Linked DNA regions of Homo sapiens: all the other regions are linked to region 1. The links are contacts of gene promoters, found by promoter capture Hi-C in human tissues and cell types (Jung and others, 2019). All regions are on one chromosome and are shown on one strand. Each heading gives the region's core, a stretch centred on a gene start or on the middle of the fragment in contact. The rest is flanking DNA. Distances are from core to core; before and after follow the strand shown.

The links. Contacts are between HindIII fragments. The study calls those that stand out against the background at their distance.
Region 2: a contact is called between a fragment that was not itself captured here and the fragment with the promoter of POLE3 in region 1, in 1 of the 25 tissues and cell types used here (lymphoblastoid cells).
Region 3: a contact is called between a fragment that was not itself captured here and the fragment with the promoter of POLE3 in region 1, in 1 of the 25 tissues and cell types used here (lymphoblastoid cells).

The regions. Positions count from the first base shown.
Region 1 is chr9:113,408,871-113,412,017 of GRCh38, forward strand. It overlaps POLE3 (DNA polymerase epsilon 3, accessory subunit), which reads right to left and starts at 1,805. Exons shown (of 5, transcript NM_017443.5): 1 at 1,747-1,805; 2 at 1,358-1,538; 3 at 1,185-1,270; 4 at 740-858; 5 at 1-113. The coding sequence starts at 1,423. It overlaps C9orf43 (chromosome 9 open reading frame 43), which reads left to right and starts at 1,877. Exons shown (of 14, transcript NM_001278629.2): 1 at 1,877-2,131. RefSeq lists enhancers at 603-1,802, 705-1,604, 1,177-1,456, 1,697-1,886, 2,505-3,147. The HindIII fragment of the contact is 6,520 bases long and covers 1-3,147 here.
Region 2 is chr9:113,201,638-113,204,684 of GRCh38, forward strand. FKBP15 (FKBP prolyl isomerase family member 15) reads right to left here. Exons shown (of 28, transcript NM_015258.2): 5 at 1,324-1,398; 6 at 894-992. Among named protein-coding and RNA genes, the nearest start is that of FKBP15, 18 kb to the right of the region's middle. The HindIII fragment of the contact is 9,656 bases long and covers 1-3,047 here.
Region 3 is chr9:113,174,757-113,177,998 of GRCh38, forward strand. FKBP15 (FKBP prolyl isomerase family member 15) reads right to left here. Exons shown (of 28, transcript NM_015258.2): 21 at 1,781-1,917. Among named protein-coding and RNA genes, the nearest start is that of SLC31A2, 25 kb to the left of the region's middle. The HindIII fragment of the contact is 4,829 bases long and covers 1-3,242 here.

The DNA.
Region 1 (3,147 bases), core at 555-3,054:
ATCATTGTCCTCATCCCTGCTCTTGTCTTGCTCTTCCGAGTCTGTTTTTTTGTCTTTGTCCTTCTTCTTTTGCTCTGAGGCCTCCTTCTTGCCTTTCTGCTCCCGCCTATATGCTGTAAGGACGGAACAAGGGGTTAGGAGACAGAGCTGAAAGTGAGCCAGACGGACTGCAGGAGCTAATTACATTGTACAATTGGAAAAACGGAGGCAGATGGGCGCGGTGGCTCACGCCTGTAATCCCAGCACTTTGGGAGGCTGAGACGGGCGGATCACCTGAGGTCAGGAGTTCAAGACCAGCCTGGCCAATATGGTGAAACCCCGTCTCTACAAAAATAAAAAATGAGCCGCACGTGGTGGCGTGCGCCTGTAGTCCCAGCTACTCGGGAGGCTGAGGCAGGAGAATTGCTTGAACCCAGGAGGAGGAGACTGCGGTGAGCTGAGATCCCATCACTGCACTCCAGCTTGGGTGACAGAGCAAGACTCCGTCTCAAAAAAAAAAAAAAAAAAACAAAAACAAGAAAAGCAAGACAAAAACAAAAACGGAGGCAGAGAAGGAAAAATAACTTGCTCAGCATTACAAAACAGATCTGAGGTGGTGCCCACCGAACTGGGTCGAGTCACATCAAGTGCTGGCTTACTGGACTTAAAGGGACCCGCGCTGAGAAGGCTCAGGGCCTGGTGAACAGGTCACACAGGATGACCATCTTCTATGTGGTTTAGAAGACAAGAGGCTCGTTACCTTCCAGAGCTTCTTTCAATGGGGTAACGAACCGCTGGAACTCCATCTCTTCCATGGCTGAGAGCACATCACTGGCATTCAGCGTCTTCCGCTTTCCTTTCATTGCAAAGTTGTTAGCACTGAGAGAAGAGAAAGGCTGTCAGACTCCCTCTTGTTTGTAAGGCGTGAGTGGGAAAAGGAGCACCCAGAGGTGGAACGGGAAAGCCTGCCTCTTACATGTATGGATTTTGGTGTGACAGGGATAAGTCCTTCCCTTCTCTGCACAAAAAAGCTAAAGCAAAGTGATTTTGTTGTGTTATTTTGCTTCAGAACTTGTAAAAACTGGCAGAGGACTGTGAACATGTCCCCACCGAGGGAGAACACAATCGTTGGGGTTTGTAGGCTCCCAGCCAGCAACTCCCAGCCAGGTATCCCCGCGCCTCCCTTATGCCTCTGTCCCGCTCACCAGGATGTGGCGTACAGCACGAAGACGCTGGCGGCGCGGGAGATGGCGCTCCGGGCCTCCTTGGAGATGTTGACACCGTCCGGGAGCTGCGAGGAGACCGGGGGTGAGCAAAGCTGCCGTTCCAGCACCTGCTTCCCTCCTGCCCGTTCGTCCGCCCCCCCCGAGCTGCTCACCGCCTCCTTGATGATCCTGGTGATCACGGCATTGGGCAGGTTTAGGTCCTCGGGCCTCTCCGCCATTGCCGCCGCTGGGGCTTAAACTCCCCTTCGCCTCCGCTTCAGGGAGCTACTGCGTCCGGACTTCCCGCGTCGCTACGGTCTGACCCTGCGAGGTTTCCGTTCCGCCCCACGTGGCCTACAGTGTCCCACAGTGCTCTGAGCGCCATAGCCTCCCTCCTCCCCCCACAGCCCCGCCTCCGCCTCAAATACCGGCGCATCCGGATTTTGAAGCCGCAGTGGTTTTGGCCCGCCAAGGCTTCCATCCAACCCTACCGCACCCCGCACGCCCCTCCCCAGGTCCATTTCTCTGCTTCTCGCCATCGCCGCGTCGGGAACCTTCTCACCAACTTATTTGGCTCAATGGAGCTTCCGTCCGTTTCCCATGGTGCCCTGCGCCGCTGCTGGGTGACGGCGCGGCCGGGCGCAGCGCGTGGGAGACGAAGGCGTGGCTGACTCGGCGGGGCGGATCCCTTTAGGACCCGAGGCAGGCTCTGGGCCCGCCGGGTCCGTTAATCTCACCGCGCCGCAAGGGGCCACGTTTTACCACTTGATTTAGCAACCCTAAGCGGTTTGGAATCTGCTTTGCTCTCACAGGACCTCAGCCCGTCGTGATCAGATTCTCCCACTTTCTTTTTTCTTTCCTGGAATGGAGTGGGCAGTCTTTTTCCATCTCTACCGAAGTTGATGTTCATTTTTAATCTTTTCGCCCCTCACGCTTTTGTAATAATGGTACTAAGACTGAGTGTTATTTAGATTTTATTGTTGTTGTTTGTGTTTAACGCGAACTATTTAGGCAGCCCAGGGATAATGCTGGCCATATAGAGATGCGCCTGATTAGGTCTCAGGAGTCAATTCGGACTGGGCAGGTAACGAAAGGGCGAGAAGCAGCCTTTTCACTGTATGAAGAATGCAACGTCACATTCGCTTTCAAAAACAAACCGTGTTAAAATTGTATTTATTTTTCAGTTAAATTGTTCATCATACATTTTTTCCAGTTAAAACCATTCTCAAGGTTTTGCAATGGCGTTTCTTTTTTTTTTTTTTTGAGACAGTCTCACTCTGTCGCCCAGGTTGGAGTGCAGTGGCGCCGATTTCGGCTCACTGCAAGCTCCGCCTCCCGGGTTCACGCCATTCTCCTACCTCAGCCTCCTTAGTAGCTGGGACTACAGACGCCCGCCACCACGCCCGGCTAATTTTTTTGTATTTTTAGTAGAGACAGGGTTTCACCGTGTTAGCCAAGATGGTCTCGATCTCCTGACCTCGTGATCCGCCCGCCTCGGTCTCCCAAAGTGCAGGGATTACAGGCGCCAGTCACCGCGCCCGGCGCAATGGTGTTTTAAGTTGTTTTTAAGTTATTTTTATATTAAGTTCGTAGAAATTCTCACTCCCACTGATTTTATTTATTTTTTAATTTTTAAAATTTCTTGACAGGGTCTCACTCCGTCCCCCAGGCTGGAGTGCAGCGGCACGGTCTCGGCTCACTGTAGCCTCGACCTCCCTGGCTCAGGTGGTCCTCCCACCTCAGCCCCAAATAGCTGGGGCTACAGGTGCGTTCCATCACACCCAGCTAATTTTTTGTATTTTTCGTAGAGACAGGGTTTCACCATGTTGCCCAGGCTGGTCTCGAACTCCAGGGCTCAAGTGATTCTCCCTCGGCCTTGCAAAGTGCTGAGATTACAGGCATGAGCCACGGCGCCCAGCCTCCCACTGAGAATTAATGCTGCTTTTTTTTCCCGTCAAGCATG
Region 2 (3,047 bases), core at 548-3,047, 210 kb before region 1:
CTGCAACCCAGAAGAGGGTCTCACTAAAACCCGACCGTGCTGGCACCCTGATCTCAGACTTTCAGCCTCGAGAACCGTGAGAAATAAATTTCTGTTGCTTAACCAGACTATGGTAATTTGTTACGGTAGCTTGAACTGACAACATGCATATTATGCAGCCTTCAAAAATGTTTCCAAATAGTTTTTCATGAGGTAGGAAAAGATGAATTATACATTTTTAAATAAAATAAGCATGATAAAGAACTATTAAAGGACTGTATCTACTTATGTATATTATGCATAGAAAAAAGGAAATATGTTAATAGTGGTTACTTTGAGTAGTAAGACTATGAGTGATTTTTTTTAATGCTTTTCTAAATTTTCTACAATGAGTATGTAGTAACTTAACTCTCTTTCTTGCTCTCTCTATCTCTTTCTCTCTCTTTCTTTCTTTTCTTGTACAGATGGGGTTTCACTATGTTGCCCAGGCTGATCTTGAACTCCTAGGCTCAAGTGATCCACCTGCCTCGGCCTCCCAAAATGCTGGGATTACAAGCGTGGCATGAACCACCACACCCAGCCTAAAACATTCTTTGAAAACACTATTTTTTAAAGATAGTTTTATTTATTCCTTAAGATAATTTATGTAGTAGAAAATTTTTTAATATAATAAGATTACATTTAGTCTTTCTCTGTTAAAAAAGAAAAAGGCTAAATTGTCAAGCAGTTTCAGTAAGTATTCCTATTATTTTCCTGAAATCATACAATAGGCCGAAGTGGCAAATTTAGTGGGTTTTTTATGCTAGTCACTAACAAAACACAGCAGATTATGGGTTTTCTATATGTTTCCCTAAAATTAAGGGAAATCCAAACAAGTATTTTGGCTTTTCACAGGGAGAGTAAGATGTTATCACCTGCTTATTGAACTCCACAGCAGCCTTTTCCGACTCAAACATGATGGACCAGTTCTGTCTCTGGTCATCATAAAAGGTGCTATAGTTATTGGGCCGAACCTGGAGAAAGGAGAAATGTTAAATTCATCCACAAGCAGTATTATACCAGATAAACATGACGGCCTAAGCTCATAGAGTAGGGTCTTGACTCAGGTGGACCCAAAGGGAACTATCAGAGATCTTTCTTCTTCCCTCTCACCCTCTACGATTCACCCTTCAGTCCACATTCCTAGAAGGAGCCAAGAGACCTTTCTGAAAGGTTCTGTTAGATACTCACAAGGACACCCAGGGCTGAACCAGTGGATCTAATTTCTATTAGGTACAATCAGACCAGTCTCTCCTGTAAACCTATCCCGAAGGAGCTAATGATTCCAATATGATGAAGTCTTACCATTAGCTCAAAGTTCACATGAATCCTAGCAACCGTAACTGGCTGTTGTTGACTGATATAAAGAAGAATCCTATACTGTAGACAAGCAACGACAGATAGAAAAAAAAAAAGAGAGACAGCAGAAGTTAAAAGGCAATATAAAATCAGCAATATAAAATCAGCAATAAGTATCAAAGGTTGTGCTTCATACTAAACTCAAAATCTATTCATCCTTTAAGGCTTCAACTTTAAATTTTATCTTCTCACTATCCACATTAATCTCTTCTCATTTTGGTCTTACTGTTTAACTGTAATTGGCAATGTCTTCATTTTGTTGGTGTTTTCATTTATACAAGGGGTGACTAAGAGTGGCTGGTTGTGTAAAAGAAAATACAAATTGTTTTTAAATTGATGAAAAACATAAAATACATGTTCATTATACATATATGTGCCCACGTGACCATCAACCAGATTTAAAAAATAGCAGAGCATTTCCCACACCACAGGAAGCTCCCTCATGCCCTTCCTAGTCAATAATCCCCACCCTGAGATAACCAATATTCTGACTTCTGTCGCTGATTAATTTTGCTTTTTTTTTTTTTCTTTTTGAGACAGAGTCTCTCTGTCGCCCAGGCTGGAGTGCAGTGGCGCAATCTCGGCTCACTGCAACCACTGCCTCCCGGGTTCAAGCAATTCTCCTGCCTCAGGCTCCCGAGCAGCTGAGACTACAGGTGCACGCCACCACACCCTACTAATTTTGTATTTTTAGTAGAGACCAGGTTTCACCATGTTGGCCAGGCTGGTCTTGAACTCCTGACCTCAGGTGATCCGCCCACCTTGGCCTCCCAAAGTGCTGAGATTACAGGTGTGAGCCACCGCACCCAGACAATTTTGCTATTCTTAAATTTGTATAAATAGGATTATACAGAGTATACTCTTTTGTCTTGCTTCTTTCACTCACCGTATCTATAAGAGTAAGCCTTGATACTTCATGTTCCAGGACTTTATTCTCTTTTATTGTCATGTAGTATTCTATTATGTGAATATACCATAAACTCTTCATTCATTCTCCTGTTTATGAACATTTGAGTTGTTTCCAGCTAGAGGCTATTATGAATGATACTTCTATGAACATTCTCCACGTCATTTTTTTTTGAGATGACGTTTCACTCTTGTTGCCCAGGCTGGAGTGCAATGGCATGATCTCAGCTTACCGCAACCTCCACCTCCCAGGTTCAAGCAATTCTCCTGCCCCAGCCTCCCAAGTAGCTGGGATTACAGGCATGTGCCATCACACCTGGCTAATTTTTTTGTATTTTTAGTAGACACGGGGTTTCTCCATGTTGGTCAGGCTGGCCTTGAACTCCCGACCTCAGCCTTGGCTTTCCAAAGTGCTGGGATTGCAGGCGTAAGCCACCGCGCCCAGCCTCTCCATGTCTTTTGAAAGACACAGACATTCGTTTCCCTCAACTTAAAGAATGTCCTTTAATGTTCCTTGTAGTGCAAATCTACTACAATGAATTCTCTCACTTTTGTTTGGCTGAAAATTTATTTTGCCTTCATTTTTGAAGGATATTTTTGTTGCTATAGAATTCTGTAATAGGCAGGGTTTTGTTTTCCTTTCAGTACTTTAAAGATATAATTCTACTGTCTTTGGATTCCAATTACATGGACGTTAGACCATGTCCCACATCAATCTTTGCCCTGGTCTCTTTCTATTATTTCTTCTCTCTGTGCTTCAGTCT
Region 3 (3,242 bases), core at 521-3,020, 230 kb before region 1:
TGGTGACAGGAGAAGGAAAACAAGAAGAGCTGTATCTACCCCTCTATTAAGAGCTAGGGAAATTGGGAGGCCGAGGCGGGCGGATCACGAGGTCAGGAGATCGAGACCATCCCGGCTAAAACGGTGAAACCCCGTCTCTACTAAAAAATACAAAAAATTAGCCGGGCGTAGTGGCGGGCGCCTGTAGTCCCAGCTACTTGGGAGGCTGAGGCAGGAGAATGGCATGAACCCGGGAGGCGGAGCTTGCAGTGAGCCGAGATCCCGCCACTGCACTCCATCCTGGGCGACAGAGCGAGACTCCGCCTCAGAAAAAAAAAAAAAAAAAAAAAAAAAAAAAAAAAAAAAGAGCTAGGGAACATCCTAACTTTAATAAAGGTACAGGAAATCAGACATTCTCATACCCTGATAGTAAGAAAACGAATGGATATACTCTCTTTGGATAGTAATCCTGTGAAAAGCCTTTAAAAACATACGTATCCAGAAATTCCACAAATTGTAATTAAGGATTCAATAAGTCATAGTCATAAAGAGTGTGTTACAAGGATGGTCACTGTAGTAGTATCTATAGTAATGACAAACTGAAAACAGCCAAGAGGTTAGAAGGAATTGGTTAAAAATAAATAAATAAAATGGAAAAAATCCTGGAAAAAAATGCAATTGCAGACCAAGATTTACCCTCTTAAAAGGCACTGGGCCAAAACAGCTTTACCTAATGAGATTTACTGAAGCCTCAGGAGCAGTTTATTATTTTCATATTTAAACGATTCCAGAACAGACAAAAAGATAGAAATGTTCTCACTTTGTTCACTTAGTATTTCCTGATATTAAAATTTTAACCAACAAAAGATACTATAAATAAAGTTAAAAGACAGCAAGCTAGAAAAATATTTACAACATCTATGACTGACAAAGGATTGATACCCTTAAAAGGGTTTACAAATCAAACTAATAATAGGAAAAAGGATAAAGGACACTAAAGAGAGAATGTACATAAGAAATACAAATAGGTATTAAATATATGAAAGCTTTACTACTAATAAAAATACACATTAAAACAAGATAACATATTTCACCTGTCAGACTAATGAAGATTAGAAAAAGTGATATATGTAGAGTGGGGAAGAATGTGACAAATGGGCTCACTCACATACTGCTGAAAGTGTAAGCACTATTCTTTGAGGATAACCTGGTAATATTTATAAAAATTCAAATATGTAGCCTTCCCTTTGATCCCATGATTCTTACTCATGCAATCCATCACGTAGGAATGCTCAAACAAATTTGCAAAAACAGTTATATAATATGAGAATGTCCATAGAAGCAGTGCTTAAAATAATGAAAAAATAAAAACATAAATATCCATCGATAGGCAAATCATTAAACAAATTATGGTACAGCCTCATAGTAGGCTACTATGCAGCAGTTAACTACGAGTGAGAAAGATCTCCTTCTTATGTAGTACAAGTCCATGACATTTTCCTAAAAAACATTAAACGTGATACCACTACTGTAAAAAAAGTTGTCAGTATACATACATGTATGTGTGTGAGAGTGTGAATGTATGTTTTCTACATACAGAAAACAATCTGGAAGGATCATACACTTTATAACTGTCACCTTCAATGTATGAGATTAGAGCGGGGAAAATTTTTTTTTAATTTTACACTTTTCTATATTATTTGTATTTGTTACAATAAGCACATACTATTGTAATTTGTAAAAGGAAAATAAAAATGTTTATTAAACAGCTAATTCTGGCCAACTGGGTTGTAGAGCTTACCTTTTCCAAGGACTCCTTCTCAACTCGAAGGTCAGTCAGTTCCTCCTCCAGGGATGTCACCTTGAGTTCCAGTTGTTTCCGGTTCTGCTTTTCACTTTTGAATTTGGACTGTGCTTGCTCAGAGGTTTCTTGGAGCTCTGGGATACAGGAGCAGAGAGACTTCGCTACAGAACCAAAGCTGTAATGGGCTATGTGTTATCCCAGCAGCTCTTTTTTTAAATTATTTTTTGGAGACAAAGCCTTGCTCCATCACTCAGGCTGGAGTGCAGTGGTGTGATCATAGCTCACTATAGCCTCCATCTCCTGGGCTCAAGCAGTCCTCCTGCCTCAGCCTCCCAGAGTGCTAGGATTACAGGCGTGAGCCCCTGCGCCTGGCCCCAGTGGCTCTTTCAAAGCCGCGTGCTTTGATTTCCCAATCCTACCACACAAGCAGCCTCTGCTCACTTCTTTCAACATCACCTCACTGACCAGCAATAAGATTTGTCAAGCCGTCAGCTGACTCCCTCATCAACCCATATTTATCCCATAGAAAGTCATCTCTGTGTATACATGTCACCTTCTCCACATACGAAATGGAAAGGACATGTTCCCAGCAGTCAGAAATGACCTTTGAAACAGATAACTCTCATAAGTCCATTTTGGCCACCATCTTAACACACTGGACCAATCATTGTTTAGTATTAGTCCAGGTTCTTTCTCACTGCTTGAGTAAGATAGTCTCAACTTTCTTGGTAGCTGGGACATTCTACCAAGAATTTGCTTTCAAAGCATCCCTTCTCAAATAAAGCTCTTTGAAATAAATAAAATTTGTTTGGGAAACTTTTGAGACTCTTATGACTCTTGAGGTAATTGTCATAAGGCACCACAAAAGCAGAAATGAGACATTTGAACAACATTCAAATCTAAGACTGTCTAACACATTTGCCTCATGTGGGCCCAGTCATGCTCTAAAAGGGAAGAGATGGGCTGGGAGCAATGGCCAATGCCTGTTAATCCCAACGCTTTGGGAGAACAGGGCGGAAGGATGGCTTGAGGTCAAGAGTTCACAACCAGCCTGGTCAACATAGTAAGACTCCTGTCTCTACAAAATATAAAAAATTTTTAAAAAAATAAAAGGGAAGGGATGTATCTTCAAGGTAGCACCTTACCAATTGACATCATTGTTTTTTAGTTCTCTATTAGGCAAATGAACTTTGCTTCCACCCAACTCTGCTGCTGCTCCAGCTACCCCCTGCCCACTAGTCCCATGTCTGCCTTCCATATTTGTTTCCATAAACCAAGGTAGATTAATCAACCTGCTGGTCTTCACAAATCTTCTATCCAATCACCATGTCTTGCCAGGCACTGAACTAACACTAATATGGAGGAGAGGACTTTACAAAGATGAGCAAAACACCATGCTTATCAAACTGTGATAAGGGTTATAATAATGCACTATGAGATAAAGGATTTTTTTTTAAAG